2 separate regions of the Homo sapiens genome follow, and region 2 is linked to region 1. The links are contacts of gene promoters, found by promoter capture Hi-C in blood cells and fetal thymus (Javierre and others, 2016). All regions are on one chromosome and are shown on one strand. The core of a region is centred on a gene start or on the middle of the fragment in contact, and the rest is flanking DNA. Distances in the headings are between cores, read along the strand shown.

Evidence for each region. Contacts are between HindIII fragments. The CHiCAGO score rates a contact against its expected background, and 5 or more counts as called.
Region 2: a fragment that was not itself captured here is called in contact with the fragment with the promoter of B3GNT9 in region 1 in 1 of 17 cell types (activated CD4 T cells); the score reaches 5.1 in activated CD4 T cells.

What each region holds. Positions count from the first base shown.
Region 1 is chr16:67,147,120-67,152,813 of GRCh38, reverse strand. It overlaps B3GNT9 (UDP-GlcNAc:betaGal beta-1,3-N-acetylglucosaminyltransferase 9), which reads left to right and starts at 1,816. Exons shown (of 2, transcript NM_033309.3): 1 at 1,816-1,949; 2 at 2,143-4,710. The coding sequence starts at 2,329. The coding sequence ends at 3,537. PHAF1 (phagophore assembly factor 1) reads right to left here. Exons shown (of 16, transcript NM_025187.5): 16 at 4,270-5,694. The coding sequence ends at 5,683. RefSeq lists silencers at 1,861-2,020, 2,031-2,460. The HindIII fragment of the contact is 3,664 bases long and covers 9-3,672 here.
Region 2 is chr16:67,069,206-67,074,848 of GRCh38, reverse strand. The region is part of intron 4 of CBFB (core-binding factor subunit beta); the gene reads right to left. Among named protein-coding and RNA genes, the nearest start is that of PHAF1, 38 kb to the left of the region's middle. The HindIII fragment of the contact is 4,178 bases long and covers 466-4,643 here.

The DNA.
Region 1 (5,694 bases), core at 567-3,066:
CCGAAGCTTTATCACAGGAGGGAATGGAAGGTGAGGCCGCGGAGAAAGCTGGAGCAGAGGACTCCTGATTACTTTGTGACCAAAAAGAGTAAGGCTCAGGGTGGAGATTTGGCTTTTTTTTTTTTTTTTTTTTTTGGAGAGAGTCTCACTCTGTTGCCAGGTTGGAGTGCAGTGGCACGATCTCGGCTCATTGCAGCCTTCGTCTCCCGGGTTCAAGTGATTTTCCTGCCTCAGCCTCCCAAGTACCTGGGATTACAGGCACGTGCCACCATACCTGGCTAATTTTTGTATTTTTAATAGAGACAGGGTTTCTCCATGTTGGCCAGGCTGGTCTCAAACTCCTGGCCTCAAGTGATCCACCTGCCTTGGCCTCCCAAAGTGTTGGGATTACAGGAGTAAGCCACCACGACTGGCCTTTTTTTTTTTTTGAGACAGTCTCGCTCTGTTGCCCAGGATGGAGTGCAGTGGTGTGTTCTTGGCTCACTGCAACCTCCACCTTCCAGGTTCAAGCAATTCTCCTGCCTCAGCCCTCTAAGTAGCTGGGATTACAGGTGCCCACCACCATGTCTAGCTAATTTTTGTATTTTTAGTAGAGATGGGGGTTTCACCACGTTGGCCAGGCTGGTCTTGACTTCCTGACCTCAAGTGATCCACTCACCTCAGCCTCCCAAAGTGTTGAGGTTACAGGCATAAGCCACCACACCCAGCCAGAGAGGTGGCTTTTTAAGATTGAACATTGGTGGGAAGAAGCCGTCAGGAGCAGATATAGCCCTTGGACAGAGGATGGGGCTGGGTTCTTAAGAGACCAGTAGAGGCTGTCTATTCCAGGCTCCACCACATGGGCTGGGACCAAGAAAGAGAGAGCTGGCAGCTGAGCTGCGCAAGGACTTAGCTCTCCATTGCAGAGCACCTCTGTCCACCTGCATCCCAGAGCAATCCTTTAGCCAAGGCCTCCGCCAGGAGTCTTCCCAAGCTGTCCCCATCCTTGCCAGCCCTGTCTGACCTGCAGCTGCACAGGCCTGATCATTTCTACCTGCAGTAGGCTATGCTGGGGACCAGGGGACTCAGAACTGCACCTGGCTTGGGCTCAGGTCCATTAGCCCCCGGGGAGACAGGCTGAAGTGCTTGCCTGTGAAATTAAAGCAGACTGGGTTGGCCCCCTGTTCTGTATCCCAGTGGATGAATGAGCGGGGCAAGGACAGATAAAATAATCCTGGCCTGAATTTCAGAAGACCTGGGGGCAGAGCTTTCTGGCCTTTGGATCCTGGGCAAGTCACTTAACTCCCCGAAGAGCCCCCCAGTGTCCCCATCTGGGCATGAATGAGAGCTGCTGGCAGAGTTGCCCTGAGGATTGGGTGGGCTGCCTTGTTTGTCCCGTGCGTGTGTTTACTGGGGGTGGGGAGCATGGCAGAACCAGGAGTAAGAAGACAGCCATGTGTCTCGGGGGCAGCGTATGCACCCTGCCTGATGGAATCAGGGCTGCTGAGGAGAGGCCCGCCCGGGATGGTGGCCAGGTTCATGCGCATTTGGAACCGGCCTGCTCAGGGGCTCCTAGCAGCCCAGGCTCCGCCCCACTCCAGAGACGCGGGAGTGGGGAGTGGATAGTTGGGGGAGCTAACCAGGGGAGTTGATGCTTCTTCCCAATCCCCAGAAAGGCGAATTTGGGGTGTGAGCACCCAGACCAGCCCTTCCCAGAGGGACTGAGAGTGAGGAGGCTCCCTCTCAGGGATTAGTCCCCACTCTGAGGCCGGAGTGCTCCTGGCGCCGGGGCGGAGCTGAGCTCCAGAAGTCTGGGCGCGCACAGCTGGAGGGTCACGTGGCACGGCACCGGTCCCCCTTCCTGCCAACGCTGCATTTGGCTCGGGCCCGGTCCATGGCGGCCCCTCGGACCCTGCGCTGAGCCCCGGAGGCCAGGGCGTCCGGGGCTGCGCCACTTCCGAGGGCCGAGCGTGAGTGTCGGGACCCCAGGGCCCGACATTGAGGGGATGGCAGGGTGGAAGGGATTCGGCCTCAGCGCGAGGGAGGCGGGCGGGGGAGGGGCCGAGGCTCCCAGTCTCCCTGCCCGGCCCTGGGTCGCAGTCCTGGGCCGGAGCTGAGGCCGCGGGGGAGTTGGCTACATGGGTGAACTTCTTGTCCCTTCAGGCTGCCGGTCCCGGCGGTGCGACACGGCCGGGAGGAGGAGAACAACGCAAGGGGCTCAACCGTCGGTCGCTGGAGCCCCCCCCGGGGCGTGGCCTCCCGCCCCCTCAGCTGGGGAGGGCGGGGCTCGCTGCCCCCTGCTGCCGACTGCGACCCTTACAGGGGAGGGAGGGCGCAGGCCGCGCGGAGATGAGGAGGAGGCTGCGCCTACGCAGGGACGCATTGCTCACGCTGCTCCTTGGCGCCTCCCTGGGCCTCTTACTCTATGCGCAGCGCGACGGCGCGGCCCCGACGGCGAGCGCGCCGCGAGGGCGAGGGAGGGCGGCACCGAGGCCCACCCCCGGACCCCGCGCGTTCCAGTTACCCGACGCGGGTGCAGCCCCGCCGGCCTACGAAGGGGACACACCGGCGCCGCCCACGCCTACGGGACCCTTTGACTTCGCCCGCTATTTGCGCGCCAAGGACCAGCGGCGGTTTCCACTGCTCATTAACCAGCCGCACAAGTGCCGCGGCGACGGCGCACCCGGTGGCCGCCCGGACCTGCTTATTGCTGTCAAGTCGGTGGCAGAGGACTTCGAGCGGCGCCAAGCCGTGCGCCAGACGTGGGGCGCGGAGGGTCGCGTGCAGGGGGCGCTGGTGCGCCGCGTGTTCTTGCTGGGCGTGCCCAGGGGCGCAGGCTCGGGCGGGGCCGACGAAGTTGGGGAGGGCGCGCGAACCCACTGGCGCGCCCTGCTGCGGGCCGAGAGCCTTGCGTATGCGGACATCCTGCTCTGGGCCTTCGACGACACCTTTTTTAACCTAACGCTCAAGGAGATCCACTTTCTAGCCTGGGCCTCAGCTTTCTGCCCCGACGTGCGCTTCGTTTTTAAGGGCGACGCAGATGTGTTCGTGAACGTGGGAAATCTCCTGGAGTTCCTGGCGCCGCGGGACCCGGCGCAAGACCTGCTTGCTGGTGACGTAATTGTGCATGCGCGGCCCATCCGCACGCGGGCTAGCAAGTACTACATCCCCGAGGCCGTGTACGGCCTGCCCGCCTATCCGGCCTACGCGGGCGGCGGTGGCTTTGTGCTTTCCGGGGCCACGCTGCACCGCCTGGCTGGCGCCTGTGCGCAGGTCGAGCTCTTCCCCATCGACGACGTCTTTCTGGGCATGTGTCTGCAGCGCCTGCGGCTCACGCCCGAGCCTCACCCTGCCTTCCGCACCTTTGGCATCCCCCAGCCTTCAGCCGCGCCGCATTTGAGCACCTTCGACCCCTGCTTTTACCGTGAGCTGGTTGTAGTGCACGGGCTCTCGGCCGCTGACATCTGGCTTATGTGGCGCCTGCTGCACGGGCCGCATGGGCCAGCCTGTGCGCATCCACAGCCTGTCGCTGCAGGCCCCTTCCAATGGGACTCCTAGCTCCCCACTACAGCCCCAAGCTCCTAACTCAGACCCAGAATGGAGCCGGTTTCCCAGATTATTGCCGTGTATGTGGTTCTTCCCTGATCACCAGGTGCCTGTCTCCACAGGATCCCAGGGGATGGGGGTTAAGCTTGGCTCCTGGCGGTCCACCCTGCTGGAACCAGTTGAAACCCGTGTAATGGTGACCCTTTGAGCGAGCCAAGGCTGGGTGGTAGATGACCATCTCTTGTCCAACAGGTCCCAGAGCAGTGGATATGTCTGGTCCTCCTAGTAGCACAGAGGTGTGTTCTGGTGTGGTGGCAGGGACTTAGGGAATCCTACCACTCTGCTGGATTTGGAACCCCCTAGGCTGACGCGGACGTATGCAGAGGCTCTCAAGGCCAGGCCCCACAGGGAGGTGGAGGGGCTCCGGCCGCCACAGCCTGAATTCATGAACCTGGCAGGCACTTTGCCATAGCTCATCTGAAAACAGATATTATGCTTCCCACAACCTCTCCTGGGCCCAGGTGTGGCTGAGCACCAGGGATGGAGCCACACATAAGGGACAAATGAGTGCACGGTCCTACCTAGTCTTTCCTCACCTCCTGAACTCACACAACAATGCCAGTCTCCCACTGGAGGCTGTATCCCCTCAGAGGAGCCAAGGAATGTCTTCCCCTGAGATGCCACCACTATTAATTTCCCCATATGCTTCAACCACCCCCTTGCTCAAAAAACCAATACCCACACTTACCTTAATACAAACATCCCAGCAACAGCACATGGCAGGCCATTGCTGAGGGCACAGGTGCTTTATTGGAGAGGGGATGTGGGCAGGGGATAAGGAAGGTTCCCCCATTCCAGGAGGATGGGAACAGTCCTGGCTGCCCCTGACAGTGGGGATATGCAAGGGGCTCTGGCCAGGCCACAGTCCAAATGGGAAGACACCAGTCAGTCACAAAAGTCGGGAGCGCCACACAAACCTGGCTATAAGGCCCAGGAACCATATAGGAGCCTGAGACAGGTCCCCTGCACATTCATCATTAAACTATACAGGATGAGGCTGTACATGAGTTAATTACAAAAGAGTCATATTTACAAAAATCTGTACACACATTTGAAAAACTCACAAAATTGTCATCTATGTATCACAAGTTGCTAGACCAAAATATTAAAAATGGGATAAAATTATACATTTTTCTTCTCAGTTCTTTTCAAAAGGATTAATATTTTTAAAGCACATATATGCTACTTTCCATTAGCAAGACCCATGAAGGGACTGAGCAGCCCAGCCTTCCTTGAGCCCCCAGAGGCTTTGAGCCATGAAATGGCCCAGCCAGGGGCCAGTGCCCAGGGTTGGGGCAGAGAGCCAGCCCACAGTGCAGAACAGAATGCTGAAACACAACAAAAGTAGGAAGATGTCTTTGGCTAAAACTTTGGCATTAAATAAAAGAGGCAAACAGGATGGAAACATGCAGCCCTGCCAGCCAGGATGGGGCAGAGCAGGGGCACAGGCAATCTTGAAAGCTGACTCCAACAGGGGTGAGAACCAGGCCTGGGCATGTACCTGGATGGTAGAAAGCTGTGTTTCAACCAGTTTGGTGTGCCCAGGCAGGGAGCGCGTGCAAGAAAGGAACAGGGAAGGGCAGGTGGGCCACCCTGGCCACAGCCAGCTCATCAAGTAACTAAAGTGGATGTAGTGCAAATGTCGCAACCAAGTACTATGGACACGCTACCTGCTTGCCTTAAGGGTCATGTGGCAATGTGGAGCCAAAGGCAGGACCTTGTCCTTATCCTGGGTGCCTGTGTCCTCAGTCACAGAAAGAGCCCCAAGTCTTCCCAATGTGCATGGGACAAGGGTTGACCTCTCCTGCCTCCTTGTTAGTTGAGAGCTCCTGGGTCCAGGAATCAAGGCTCAAACTTTGTGCTTCTCTTTGCAGTCTGTGTCCCCTGCTGGCACCAGCAGGCCAAAGATGGACAGAAGAATATCTGGGCCACTCAGCCCATGGCAGAGCACCCAGCCTGAGCCCAACCTCAGAACATCACAACAGCCCTTCAGCACTGGCCAGGTGTCCAAGAAAACCCACAGGGTGGTACAGAGGCCCACTGAGCAGGATGTGATGCACAGTTCCACGGGACAGAGGGGCATGGGTGGTGGTGTCCCTAGGGGAGTTC
Region 2 (5,643 bases), core at 1,305-3,804, 79 kb after region 1:
TACATTCTCTTAATACTGTCTTTTGATAAACAGTTCTTGGTTTTACCATAATTCGTTATTTATCCATTTACTTACAGTTTAGCATCTTTTGTGTCCTGTTCAAGTTTTTGCCTACTCCAAGGTCACAAAATGATCTTCTCATTTTCCTTTAAAAAGCTTTACTGTTTCGGCCGGGCACAGTGGCTCATGCCTGTAATCCCAGCACTTTGGGAGGCCGAAGCGGGTGGATCATGAGGTCAAGAGATCGAGACCAGCGTGGCCAACATGGTGAAACCTCGTCTCTACTAAAAATACAAAAATTAGCAGGGTATGATGGCACGTGCCTGTAGTCCCAGCTACTTGGGAGGCTGAGGCAGGAGAATCACTTGAACCCGGGAGGCAGAGGTTACAGTGAGCTGAGATCACGCCACTGCACTCCAGCCTGGTGACAGAGCTAGACTCTGTCTCAAAAAAAAAAAAAAAGCTTTACTGTTTTACATTTTATAAACTGCTATCCATCTGAAATTGATTTTTGTGAATGGTATAAGGGGCTCTGATATATTTTCCCCTCACAGAAATGTTTTATTGTCCCAGCATCATTTACTGAAGAGACCTACCCCCTGCCCCCCACCCTTGTCTGCACTGCAGTGTCACCTTTGTCTTTGTTTATTGCTGGTATATAGAAATGTAACTGATGGTGTACTGACCTTGTATTACATCTAATGCCCTGTGAAATTCATGTGTTAGTTTTCTTAATAGTGTGTAAATTATCTTAGATTTTCTAAGTACATGCATCTTCTGCAAATAACAGCTTGGTGTTTTTTGTTTTTTGTTTTTTTTGAGATGGAGTCTTGCTCTGTTGCCCAGGCTTGGAGTGCAGTGGCACCATCTTGGCTCACTGCAAGCTCCGCCTCCTGGGTTCATGCCATTCTCCTGCCTCAGCTTCCCAAGTAACTACAGGTGCCCTCCACCATGCCCGGCTAATTTTTGTAGTTTTGGTTGAGACGGGTTTCACCATGTTGGCCAGGCTGGTCTCGAACTCCTTACCTCAGGTGATTTGCCCGCCTCAGCTTTCCAAAGTTCTGGGATTACAGGCATAAGCCACTGCGCCCGGCCTCGTGTTTTTTTGAGATGGAGTCTCACTCTGCTGCCCAGGCTGGAGTGCAATGGCACGATCTCGGCTCACCGCAACCTCCACCTCCTGGGTTTAAGTAATTCTCCTGCCTCAGCCTCCTGAGTAGCTAGAACCACAGGCACGCACCACCATGGCTAATTTTTGAATTTTCAGTAGAGACGGAGTTTCACCATGTTGGCCAGGCTGGTCTCGAACTCCTGACCTCAAGTGATCCACCTGTCTCGGCCTCTCAAGAGTGCAGGGATTACAAGTATGAGCCACTGCATCTGGTCACATGTCTTCTGTTTCTTTTTGGGAAAAGAATCTTGGATGGAATTCCATTTTTAACTGGAAATGATTTGATTCTGAAGTAACTGAACTTGGCAAAATTTTCAGAAGAATCATAAATAGAGACAGAATCATAAATAGAGACAGCTTTGACAGGTATTGTCTTATACCAAACTTGTCAAAGAAAGGCACTCTGGACAAAAGCAGAGACAATACCTGTGAAAATATTTCAGCTGAAATAGTTATACAATTTAATCTTTCAAAAATGGAATTGACTCTCTTCCATTTAGCTCTTAGTTTACCAGATACTTCAGCATTTGTTAGAGTATTTTGTCAATTTTTTACGTAGTTTACAGACACTCAATTGAAGATGTCAGCTGTTCCAAATTTACTAATTATAATATGCAACTCTGAAGCATATTGTGGGCACTTTTATGAAGAAAATAAAAGTAAGGGGCTAGATGCAGTGGCTCATGCCTATAATCCTAGTGCTTTGGGAGGCTGTGGCAGGAGGATCGTTTGAAGCCAGCAATTCAAGACCAGCCTGGCCAACATGGTAAGACCTCATCTCTACAAAAGATAAAAAAAATTAGCCAAGCACGGCAGGAGCTTGAGGCTGTAGTGAGCTGTCATTGTACCACTGCACTCTGGCCTGAGCAACAGAGCAAGACTCTGTCGCTAAAAAAAAAAAAAGAAAAAAGAGGCCGGGCATGGTGGCTCACGCCTGTAATCCCAGCACTTTGGGAGGCTGAGGCGGGCAGATCACCTGAGGTCAGGAGTTGAAGACCAGCCTGACCAACATGGAGAAACCCCGTCTCTACTAAAAATACAAAATTAGCCGGGCATGGTGGCACATGCCTGTAACCCCAGCTACTCAGGAGGCTGAGGCAGGAGAATCGCTTGAACCCAGGAGGCGGAGGTTGAGGTGAGCCCAGATTGTGCCATTGCACTCCAGCCGGGGTGAGAGAGCAAGACTCTGTCTGGAAAAAAAAAAGAAAAAAAAAGAAAAACAAGACCATATTGAAAAATCTATATATTCTTCAGAAAAATATTAGATACAGATATAAATAAGAGACTAATAAAGTGCATGAATAAATATCAAGACTAAGTATTCTGCTTATTAATCTTAATGTTCAGAAGATTAGCATAAAGATATAACTTTTATTTTGCTGTAATGTGCACATGTTGTTTTATTTAAAAACGTATTTTTAAAAATGTTTTTTGAATGAAACAATTTTTCTAGGGCTAGCAATATAATAAAATCAATTTGTGGGTCAAAATATTATATAATTTCAGTTAAACATGACCTTATACTTTTAGGAATAATACAGTTACAATAAGTAATATGGTCACTCTCATCCTATATCAAATTATATTACATTATGAATGATATAACATTAACCATGAACTTTAACTTTTCAAAAAACTGTTTTTTGGTTAATTCAGAAGAGTTATTTCTGCCTGTGTGATCAGCAGAGAGAAACAAAGCTGTGTTGGGCCATGGAAGTGAGGCTGCCACCGGCTCACTCGCTAGAGATGGGGCCTATTCCAGCCCAGTGAAAGAGGGCTGAAATCCATGCTTTGTGATTTTACACACTACTTCACAAGACAGACATCTGGAGAAGAGTGGAAACCCTAAGTATAAAATGCTAAAGTACAAGCAGTAACAAACAAGAGTCTTTGTTTAGGAACTGTACTGCACGCTAGATACTGTGCTAGGCACAGCCCTTTACATATGCTATCCCATTCAACTGCCCACAATCTTGTGGGCAGCATTATCCCATCTTAGGAAGGAGAAATCTGAGGCCTGGAGAGATTTAATAACTTGCCAGCATCACACAGCTAGTGTTTTAGTCATCTGAGGATGCCATACTAAAATACCATAAATGGAGTGGCTTAAACAACAGAAATTTATTTTCTCACATTTCTGGAGACTAGCAATCCCAGATCAATGTGCCAGCCAATTTGGTTCCCCGTGAGGAACCTCTTTCTGGCATGCAGACATCCATCTTCTCACTGTGTCCTCATACGGCAGAGAGAGAGACAGAGAGCTCTCTCCTGTCTCTTAAGGACACTAACCCTACTGGATCAGAGCCCCACTCTTACGCCTTTATCTAACCTTAATTACCTCCATAAATGCCCTATCTTCAAGTACAGTAACAACGGGAGTAGGGCTTCAACATATCAATTTGGGGATGGGGTAAACAAACATTCAGTTCATGAGAGCTGGTAAGTAGTGGGGCCAGGATTCACATTATACGACTATGAACTCCTGCCCCTAGCATCTACATTTCATTGCTTCTTTACTTATATTATCTTGCAGATGGGGACAAGGGGAGCTACAGGGAAGTACTGATTGCTGCCTAAATAGTTGGAGTCACCTGCTCTGAATTTTTTTTACTATACACTGTATAACTCCTATTATCGGTAAGAGTTATGTAACTCCATTGTGATAGTAGTAAACTATCACAACAGATGGCACTTAATTTGTAGTGATATAGTTCAATTTGGGGACTATGGAAATAAGGCTTGGAAAACTCCAAGTATAAAAAATGTTAAAAATTTTAACCTATTATCTTAATAAAATACTTTAGTTTTTGTTGTTTGTTTTTGAGACAGGGTCTTGTCTTGCTCTGTCACCCAGGCTGGAGTGCAGTGGTGTGATCTCGGCTCATTGCAATCTCAGCCTCCTGGGTTCAAGCAATCATCCCACCTCAGCTTCCTGAGTAGCTGGGTCTACAGGTGCACACCACCACAGCTGGCTAATTTTTTTTTTTTTTGGTAGAGACAGGGTTTTGCCACATTGCCCAGGTTGGTCTCAAACTCCTGGGACCAAGCAATACTCCCATCTCTGCCTTTCCAAGTGCTGGAATTACAAGCGTGAGCCACTGCACCCTGTCAAAATACTTTAGTTTTTTAAAAGTCAATCCAATCTGAATTTTCCTTATATAAATAAAGTCTGCTTTATCACTTCTTAACAGAAAATAGACTTTTAGATTGCTGGTTATTTATTATTTTTCTGAAAGAATTGGAAATTCATTAGCATTGTGGAAATCAGGGTAGTGCATGGATTCTTTCTTTATTTTTATGTTTAGAGATGAAGGTCTCATTATGTTGCCTAGGCTGGGCTGGAACTCCTGGGATCAAGGGATCCTCCTGCTTCAGCCTCCCAAGTAGCTAGGACTACAGGCATGTGCCACTGGGATGGCCTGGGCCAGACCAAGAATTCTTTCTTAAGACTTTTAACTTTGAATCCTAAGCTTTTCACTAGAAAGTTTTAATTTTTTGATCTCCTTTAAAGAAAATTCTTACATTTCCATATATAAAGAACTATATGGGAAGATACAACAAAGAAACAAAGAGTTTCTTTATGTTCCTGTTATTATTTTAACTTTATTAAGGTTAATATCAAGCAAACAATTAAAAGACATTAATACCTGCTAATAATCAGGTGCTTTTACATTTTCTTTGTTTTTAAAGAGACAGGGACTCACTCTGTCACTTAGGCTTGAGTGCAGTGGTGCGATCACAGCTCACTGCAGCCTCAAACTCCTGGGCTCAAGTGATCCTCCCACTTCGGTCTCCCAAAGTGCTGGGATTACAGGTGTGAGCCACTGCACCCAATCTGCTTTTACATTTTCTTTTGGTGCTTTTAATATGTCATCCCACAACTTTCTAGCCTCTATGATTTCAAGAGAAGTCAGCTGTTAATCTTACCGTGGTTCCTTCGCGTGTGAGGAATCCTTTCTTGCTGCTTTCATGATTCCTTGTCTCTCAACAGTTTATAATGTGACTAGGTATGGATTTCTTTGTGTTTATCCTACTTAGTGTCCATTGAGCTTCTTGGACAATGTGGATTAATATTTTTCATCAAACGTGAGAGTTTTTGGCTACTACTTCTTAAAATGTATCTTCAACCTCTTTCTTTCCTTTCCTGAAACTTTCATTACATTTATGTTAATACGTGTGCTGGTGTCCCACAGGTCCCCAAGACTGTTAATTTTTCTTGTTCATATGTCAGCTCTTATCTACCATTTAGTCTGTGAACTTTTTGTTACTACTGTACTTTCCAACTCCAGAATTTCTTTTTTTTTTTTTGAGATGAAGTCTTGCTCTGTCGCCCAGGCTGGAGTGCAGTGATGCGATCTTGGCTTGCTGCAACCTCTGCCTCCTGGGTCCAAGCTATTCTCCTAACTCAGCCTCCTGAGAAGCTGGGATGGCAGGCATATGCCACAACACTCGGCGTTTTTTTTGAGATGGAG